Regions from separate parts of the Homo sapiens genome. Here region 1 is linked to region 2. Evidence: promoter capture Hi-C in human tissues and cell types (Jung and others, 2019). All regions are on one chromosome and are shown on one strand. Each heading gives the region's core, a stretch centred on a gene start or on the middle of the fragment in contact. The rest is flanking DNA. Distances are from core to core; before and after follow the strand shown. Region 1 overlaps MYRFL (myelin regulatory factor like). Region 2 holds the start of LYZ (lysozyme).

Region 1 (4,677 bases), core at 792-3,291, 520 kb after region 2:
TGTTTTAACAATTTGGTCAGTTTGAAGGTAGCTATCATTAATTCTCCCTTCAAATTCTCTGAAAAGAAGTGCAAAATTTCTCTAACTGTATTTAAATGCATTGAGCATGGAAGCATATAAAATACAATGAAATAAAGGAGTAGCTGTGGTGAATTTTGGAAGGGGAAGGAACTCTAAAGACAGCATTTAATATTTTAAAATCTTCATCTTAAAACCACCAACACATATTCCTGTCACTCAACGCAGGGACTTTTGGTTCTCGTTAAGGGACTGCTGGATGGAGACTGCATTCCTGTTTACAATATGCCAAGCCATATTTTTTTTAGTAGATTGATCATTTAATTGTGATTTTCAGTTTTTATTACATTATTGAATTCAATGATGCCTGTAGTGTCAGGGTAACTAAACAACTGCCTAGAGCCTTAAATGTGGAATTATGAGATCACAGAGTCAGTTACAAAATTTAATTTATAGACCTAGAGTGATACATGTGAAGAATTTAAGAAGTCAAATGATACTGTATATAGCATATAATAGGAGATTACCAGCAATCCCCCTGCTCTACCCCTGTCTTTAAATTGGCTCCCCCAGAGGCAGCCACTTTCCAACTCTTTTTGGATATTTCTTTTTTTTTTTTTTTTTTTGAGATGGAGTCTTGCTCTGTCGCCCAGGCTGGAGTGCAGTGGCACAATCTTGGCTCACTGCAAGCTCCGCCTCCCGGGTTCACGCCATTCTGCCTCAGCCTCCCGAGTAGCTGGAACTACAGGCACCTACCACCATGCCCGGCTAATTTTTGTATTTTTTTTTAGTAGAGACAGGATTTCACCGTGTTAGCCGGGATGGTCTTGATTTCTTGACCTCGTGATCCACCCACCTTGGCCTCCCAAAGTGCTGGGATTACAGGCGTGGGCCACCGCGCCTGGCCCTCTTTTTGGATATTTTTATTGCCCTATATCTAAATAATGTTTTTATATTGCTTTTTTGCTGTATACACTTGAAGAACATAATATAATCTTCTGGGAAGATTTAATTTTCTTATATCACATCTTACATTCACTTCTACACTCAGCTTCCCAATATCATAAAATTGTCTAAAATTTTTTAGTTATGTCAATATCCAGGGCTTACATTATCATGATGTGTCACATATAATTTTCATTTTTTTTTGCTTTGTTTGAATCATTGCCTTGTTTTTACAATTTGTTTGGCTTTGGTTCCCTCAAGTTCTCTAAAAAGAGCTGAAAATTTTTCTCAATGTTAAAAATAATCAATTCTTTTCCTCGTCAATAAACTCCTCAATCCATGTATGTCTTTAGTGACTTTTTGGTTCTATCAACTTGTTCTCCCCATTGTGTTCTATCATCGATGAAAGAGGAATGTTAAAATATTTAGCTATGTGATTGTACAATTGTCTACATCTTTTAGTTTCATTAATTTTTGCTTTGCGTATTTTGAAACTCTGTTATTAAGTACATAAACAATCATGATTCCTATGCCTTCCTAAAAAATGACTCTTTTATTATTAGAAATGAGCCTCTTTGTCTGTGGTGGTACTCTTTATTTTGAAGTCAGTTTTAGCTATTATTCATGAAACTGCTTCACCCTTCTTGTACACATTTTTCTCTTGGTTAACTTTTGACTTATCTGTGTCTTTATATTTCAAGTGTTTTTGCAGGCAAAAGAGAGTTGCTTTTTAAAAATCCATTCTGATCATTTCTGCCCTTTTTCCCCCTTAGGGACAGGGTCTCACTTTGTCACCTAGGCTGAAGTGCAGTGGCATGATCACAGCTCATTGTAACCTCAAATTTCTGGGCTCAAGTGATCCTCCTGCCTCACCCTCCTGAATAGCTGGGACTATAGGTGTGCACAACCACACCTGGCTAATCTTAAATAAAAAAAATTTTTTTTTTTTGAGATGGAGTCTCGCTCTGTTGCCTAGGCTGGAGTGCGATGGCATGATCTCGGCTCACTGCAACCTTTGCCTCCTGAGGTCATACGATTCTCCTGCCTCAGCCTCGTGAGTAGCTGGGATTACAGGTGTGCGCCACTGTGCCCGGCTAATTTTTGTATTTTTAGTAGAGATGGGGTTTCACCATGTTGGCCAGGCTGGTCTTAGGCTCCTGACCTTGTGATCCACCTGCCTCGGCCTCCCAAAGTGCTGGGATTACGGGTGTGAGCCACCACGCCTGGCCTTTACATTTTGTTTTTAGAGACAGGGTCTCACTATGTTGCTGAAGCTGGTCTTGAATTCCTAACCTCAAGCAATCCTCCTGCCTCAGCGTCCCAAAGCACTGGAATTAGGTGAGCTACCGTGCCTGGCCTAATTTCTGCCTTTTAATGGGAGTGTTTAATCTTTTAACATCTAATGTAATTATTAGTATTGCACAATAGACCTCCTTATTCATGGAGGATATGTTGCAATACCTCTACTGGATGCCTGAAACTGAGGGTAGTACCAAACCCTATATATGCTATGCACAAATTTCTTTTTCTTTCTTTACAGTTTCATGAATAGAAGATTAATTCTTACAGTAGATCAGGGGTGTCCAATCTGTTGGCTTCCCTGGGCCACATCGGAAGAAGAAGAATTGTCTTTGGCCACATGTAAAATACACGAAGATTAATGATAGATGATGAGCTAAACCAAAAAAAAATCAGAAAAAAATCTCATAACGTTTTTTACAAGTTTACAAATTTGTGTTGGGCTGCATCCGTCCTGGGCTGCATGCAGCCCACGGGTGGCGGGTTGGACAAGCTTGCAGTAGATTCTAGCAATCTCAGCACACGATTTTTTTTTCTTTCCTTACTATGTCAAGAATTTTCAAATGTTCACTTAAAGGAAGTACTTTGTGGCTTCTCTTGGGCATATACAAATTGCCAACTTTACATGTCTTGTGTTTGGAACCATTATAAAGTAAAATAAAGGTTACTTGAACACAAGCAATGTGATATCGTGGCAGGAAATCCGTCTTTGTCTTAGGCTACTAAGACAATGGGTGGGTAGTGGATACAGTGTGGATATACTGGAAAAAGGGGATGATTCATGGTTTATGATTTCATCATGCTACTCAGAATGGAGTGCAATTTAAAACTTACAAATTATTTATTTCTGGAATTTTCCATTTAATATTTTTGGACCAAGGTTGATTGTGGGTAACTGAAACCTTAGAAAGTGAAACCATGGATAAGGGAGGACTATATCTGTAGTTAAGTCTGACATTTAATTATTTGTCTGTCTTTTTTTTTTTGGCCCCTTCTGTTTCTTATTCTTCTGTAACTCCTTTCTTGGTTTATTTTGTATTGTTTGAATAATTTTAGAATTTCATTTTATCTGTTGACTTTAGTTCTACTTCTTTGCATTATTTAACTTTTTACAGTTTACTTAGAGTTAATGAGTTAATATTGTACCACTTTACATAAAATGTAGAACCATCAACAATGTAGTTCCATTGATCTCCAACTCCCATCCCCTATGCTATAGCTGTCCTAAGTATTATACCTATGTGCATTATAAACTTCACAAAATCATAATTTTTACTTTAAGCACTCAAATGTATTTTATTTTGTTATTTTATTTTATTATTATTTTTGAAATAACTTCTCAGCCTGTTGCTCAGGCTAGGGAGCAGTGGCAACTCATGGCTCACTCAAGCCTCATTCTCCTGGGCTCAAGCGATCCTTCAGCCTCAGCTTCCTGAGTAGCTGGGAGCACAGGTGCATGCCACCACGCCCTGCTAATTTTAATATTTTTTGTAGAAACAGGGTCTTCCCATGTTGTCCAGGCTAGTCTTAAGCTCCTGGTCTTAAGCAACTCTTCTCCTTCGGCCTCCCAAAGTGCTGGGATTATAGGCATGAGCCACTGTGCCCACCTTCAGATGTATTTTTAAAAATTAAGATAAAAAATAATTTACATTCAATAATATATCATTTTTATTCTCTTCATACCTTTTCATAGTTTCAAATTTCCATCTAGAACCATTTCCCTTTAGCCTGAATAACTGTCTTTAACATTTCTTATTGTACATGTCTATTCTCAAATTCACTTAGTTTTCTTTTATCTCAAAATATCTTTATTTTGCTTTCATTCTTGAAGACTATTTTCATTGGATATCAAATTCTGGCTTACCAATTTTGTTTTTCTGTAGCACTTTAAAGATGTTTTTGTACTGTCTTCTGGCCTCTGGAGATTTTGATTAGTCAGTGATTATTTGAATCACTATGACCCTGCACATAAGGTACTGTTTTTCTTTAGCTACTTTTAAGACTTTCTCTTTATTTTTGGCTTACAGTTACTCCACTCTGATGCGGTAGATGTATTTATTTTGCTGAGCTTCTTAAAGATATAAATGTATGTATCTTTAAAGATATAAATGTATATATCTAAGATATATACATTTATATCTTTAAGAAGCTCAGCAAAATAAATACATCTACCACATCAGAGTGAAGTATATATCTTCATAAAGATATATACATTTATATCTTTTCCTAAATTTAGGAAGATTTTGGCTGTTATATCTTAATTTTTTTTTCTGTTTCATCCTCTCTGCAGGTTCATAAATCTCTTTTTCTCTCTCTTTTTTAAAGTTCATTTTTTTCCTCTCTGTTGTTTAGATGGGATGATGTCTATTGATGTATCTTTGAGTTCTGTTTTAAGCCCATCTAATAATTTTTTTA
Region 2 (4,995 bases), core at 903-3,402:
GTAGCTGGGACTACAAGCACATTTTTAAATTTTTTTTTATTTTTAGTAAATATAGGGTTTTGCCATGTTGCCCAGGCTGGTCTCCAACTCCTGGTCTCAAGCAGTCCTCCTGCCTCGGCCTCCCATAGTGCTGGAAATACAGGCATGAGCCACTGCGCCCAGCCAAGACTAACTCTTTTAATTGGTTTCTGTCTCTTTGGGTCCTGAAAATCTGTCTCACTATTTATTATTATTATTATTATTATTATTATTTGAGACAGAGTCTCACTCTCTTTCCCAGGCTGGAGTGCAATGGCACAATCTCGGCTCACTGCAACCTCCGCCTCCTCGGTTCAAGCGATTCTCCTGCCTCAGCATCCCAGGTAGCTGGGATTATAGGCACCCACCACCACACCCAACTAATTTTTCTATTTTTCGTAGAGACGGGGTTTCACCATGCTGGCCAGGCTGGTCTCGAACTCCTGACCTCAGGTGATCAGCCTGCCTTGGGCTTTCAAAGTGCTGGGATTACAGGCATGAGCCACCGCAGCTGGCCATTTTTTTTTTCTTTCTTTTTTTTTTTTTTTTTTTTGAGACAGAGTCTCACTCTGTTGCCCAGGCTGGAGTGCAGTGGTGTGATCTCAGTTCACCACAACCTCCGCCTCCCGGGTTCAAGTAATTCTCCTGCCTCAGCCTCCCAAGTAGCTGGAATTATAGGCGCACCACCACGCCCAGCTAATTTTGTATTTTTAGTAGAGACGGAGTTTCACCATGTTGGCCAGGCTGGTCTTGAACGCCTGACCTCAGGTGATCCACCCACCTCAGCCTCCCAAAGTGCTGGGATTACAGGCATGAGCCACTGCACCTGGCCCTATTTATTATTGAAGAATCAAAATTAGGCCTAGCCTGAAAAATGAGATTATTCTTGATTTTTGAACAGGGTCCTTGAACTGTCATTTAAAACCAAATCTGGTAATCTTTAGAGGCCACTGATGAAAAATAAGGGTAACTACAAAGTGATGACACTTTGTGTGGCTCAGAATCTGTCCTCTTAGGCAGATACAGAAGTGCAGTTCTTTTTGAGTTCTGGTAGCATTGTTTTAAAAGCTGTGCACAGCCTCCTGAGATTGCTATTTTCAAAGGTAGCATTTAGTTGGATATATGTTTGGGTAGGTTTTATTTTTAAAATGCTGTTGCTTTCTAATGACCCCTTATGTTCTAATATGGAAAGGGGAGGCAAAGTATTGTGAAAAGTAGTTGGTAAAGTAGGCCGGATGTGGTGGCTCACACCTGTAATCCCAGCACTTTGGAAGGCCGAGGCGGGCGGATCACGAGGTCAAGAGATCCAGACCATCCTGGCCACATGGTGAAACCCTGTCTCTACTAAAAATACAAAAATTAGCTGGGCATGGTGGTACATGCCTGTAGTCCCAGCTACCTGGGAGGCTGAGGCAGGAGAATTGCTTGAACCCGGGAGGCAGAGGTTGCAATGAACTGAGATTGCGCCACTGCACTCCAGCCTGGTGACAGAGTAAGACTCCATCTCAAAAAAAAAAAAAAAAAGGTAGTTGGTAAAGTTGTTCACATGAACCTTATTTATAATAGTAAAACACTGATTTATAATAATAAAAAATTTGCTATAGTAACAAAAAGAGTCTAGAGTAAGAAACTAGCTGAGCAACGTGGTGTCACACTATACACCCATTAAGACAACAGGCACATGTGTCATGTCCATTTTGTGGAAAAGATATGTAAAATAATTTTAAGTAAAAAAGATAAATATAAAAAAGTGAATGCATACAAAACAATTTCACAAAATTGAATGTTACTCAAAAATCACAGCTCATTTTAAGCTGCACAAAATAGTCATTTTTTTCTTTATAATTGCTCAAATTCATAATCAAACAGAAGAAAGTTCCTGTCTTGGAAGTAGTGCTATGCCCCAATTCTTCCAGAGCCAGTACTTTAAACAATTCCATTTCATTATTTTCCTGTAGACTAATTCTTAGGACATCAGCATATCTCTCTTCAAGCATTAAAAAAATCTCTTTAGAGTCAGTGGATCAATAGACAGTTCCTGTTTTCCACACAACTGAAAGGGTGGAGCCCCCAAACCACAAGGGGAAGAAGGAAGTTAAAAGATGTTAAATACTGGGGCCAGCTCACCCTGGTCAGCCTAGCACTCTGACCTAGCAGTCAACATGAAGGCTCTCATTGTTCTGGGGCTTGTCCTCCTTTCTGTTACGGTCCAGGGCAAGGTCTTTGAAAGGTGTGAGTTGGCCAGAACTCTGAAAAGATTGGGAATGGATGGCTACAGGGGAATCAGCCTAGCAAACTGTAAGTCTACTCTCCATAATTCCAGAGAATTAGCTACGTATGGAACAGACACTAGGAGAGAAGGAAGAAGAAGAAGGGGCTTTGAGTGAATAGATGTTTTATTTCTTTGTGGGTTTGTATACTTACAATGGCTAAAAACATCAGTTTGGTTCTTTATAACCAGAGATACCCGATAAAGGAATACGGGCATGGCAGGGGAAAATTCCATTCTAAGTAAAACAGGACCTGTTGTACTGTTCTAGTGCTAGGAAGTTTGCTGGGTGCCTGAGATTCAATGGCACATGTAAGCTGACTGAAAGATACATTTGAGGACCTGGCAGAGCTCTCTCAAGTCCTTGGTATGTGACTCCAGTTATTTCCCATTTTGAACTTGGGCTCTGAGAGCCTAGAGTGATGCAGTATTTTTCTTGTCTTCAAGTCCCCTGCCGTGATGTGGGATTTTTATTTTTATTTTTATTTTATTTTATTTTATTTTTAAAGACAGTCTCACTGTGTGGCCCAGGCTGGAGTGCAGTGGCATGATCTCAGCTCACTGCAACCTCTGCCTTCTGGGCTCAAGTGATTCTCGTGCTTCAGCCTTCTGAGTAGCTGTGACTACAGGTGTGTACCACCACACCCAGCTAATTTTTTGTATTTTCAGTACAGATGGGGTTTCACCATGTTGGCCAAGCTGGTCTTGAACTCCTGGCCTCAAATGATCTGCCCACCTCAGCCTCCCAAAGTGGTAGGATTACAGGTGTGAACCACTGCACCCAGCCGACATGGGATTTTTAACAGTGATGTTTTTAAAGAATATATTGAATTCCCTACACAAGAGCAGTAGGAACCTAGTTCCCTTCAGTCACTCTTTGTATAGGATCCCAGAAACTCAGCATGAAATGTTTTATTATTTTTATCTACTCTACTTGATTAACTATCTTTCATTTTCTCCCACACAATTCAAGATGTGCCATGAGGAAAAGTTATTTTATAGTTTAGTACATAGTTGTCGATGTAATAATCTCTGTAGTTTTCAGATTGAATTCAGACATTTCCCCTCAATAGCTATTTTTGAATGAATGAGTGAAGGGATGAAATCACGGAATAGTCTTGTTTTCAAGATTCTAACTTGATATCCAAATTCACCTTTAGATATTATAAGAAAATTTCTATCAGAAAATCCTTATGTTTTTCTGATTAAAAAAAGCATTTTTCCATCAGCCTATGTATCTGCTATGAATTTACAAAATCTACTCAACAGCTCTGTTGATTTTTCTGTTCTTGGCTGAATGTTGCCTGAGGGATGGGAGCACGGGAAGGGTAAAAGCAATGGAACAAACATGTATTTTAATATTTTAAAAGTATGTTATATTGTTCGTTGGTGTTACAAGATGATTTGCATTACAAAAGGATTCTCTTACAAGTCCCTTATCTTAACACTAAAGTGCTAAGATATTTTATAAGTAAATCTTTATACTTATAAAACAAATCAGTAAAATAGAAGTAGCTAAGTAGAACTGATTTTGCTATAGAGTATAAGTCACTTAGTGTTGCTGTTTATTACTAAAAATAAGTTCTTTTCAGGGATGTGTTTGGCCAAATGGGAGAGTGGTTACAACACACGAGCTACAAACTACAATGCTGGAGACAGAAGCACTGATTATGGGATATTTCAGATCAATAGCCGCTACTGGTGTAATGATGGCAAAACCCCAGGAGCAGTTAATGCCTGTCATTTATCCTGCAGTGGTAAGACAAGCTAATATTTGACCAATCTGGTTATACTTACAAGAATTGAGACTCAATACAAATGAAAAAGCCTTGAAAGGTTCATGAGGGACCTAGAAAAACTACATCTCAACTTCCAGAAAGTCATTATTATTTTCCTCATAATTCCCTGAGTAAGAAATTAAAGAAGTGGTATCATAAAAGGTTGATGTTTTTTAATATACAGAAGTTTCTGGAATGACCTATTAATTTACTGTCAATGGCCTTACTGATGCTTTGTCCAGAACAATGCCATTGCTCCTGCTTACTTTGGGGAGGTTTTGGGATAATTTAGTTGTATGGTCCTTTTTCAATTGTTTTACTTTTTTTTTTATGAAATGTTCTAAATGTATAGAAAATTAGAGACATTAGTATAATAAACAGCCATATGCCCATTATGCACTTTAAAAGTTGTTAACATTTTGCCATAGTTGCTTCTTCTATGCCTTTTTTTTTTTTTTTTTTTTTTTTTTTTTTTTGCTGAGAGTTTTTTGTTTGGTTTTGTTTTGTTTTATTTTGAGACAGGGTCTCCCTGTCCCCAGGCTGTAGTGCAGTGGCACCATCACAGCTCACTGCAGCCTCAAGTGATCATCCCACCACAGCCTCCCAAGTAGCTGGGACTACAGGTGTGCACCACCATGCCTGGCAAATTTTTGAAATTTTTAGTACAGGCAAATTCTGTGTTGCCCAGGCTGGTCTTGAACTCCTGAGTTCAAGCAATCTTCCCACCTCAGCCTCCTTAAGTGCTGGAATTACAGGCGTTAGCCACTGTACCTGGCTACTGCTGAGAGACTTTTAAGTGAATTAGGAACATGATGATATTCCATTTCTAAATTCTTTAGTTTACATCTTCAAAAAATACAGTTCCTGTAGAATTATTATTGTAAATAACAAATTAACTTAAGGATTTATTTATTTGGAGTGAAACAAATA

Evidence for each region. The method cuts DNA at HindIII sites, captures the fragments that hold promoters and counts their contacts. A contact is called where the count stands out against the background at its distance.
Region 1: a contact is called between a fragment that was not itself captured here and the fragment with the promoter of LYZ in region 2, in 1 of the 25 tissues and cell types used here (H1 embryonic stem cells).

The regions. Positions count from the first base shown.
Region 1 is chr12:69,870,607-69,875,283 of GRCh38, forward strand. All of the region lies in intron 2 of MYRFL (myelin regulatory factor like), which reads left to right. Among named protein-coding and RNA genes, the nearest start is that of MYRFL, 48 kb to the left of the region's middle. RefSeq lists an enhancer at 1,198-1,367. The HindIII fragment of the contact is 5,819 bases long and covers 1-4,677 here.
Region 2 is chr12:69,346,229-69,351,223 of GRCh38, forward strand. It overlaps LYZ (lysozyme), which reads left to right and starts at 2,153. Exons shown (of 4, transcript NM_000239.3): 1 at 2,153-2,316; 2 at 3,880-4,044. The coding sequence starts at 2,181. The HindIII fragment of the contact is 15,407 bases long and covers 1-4,995 here.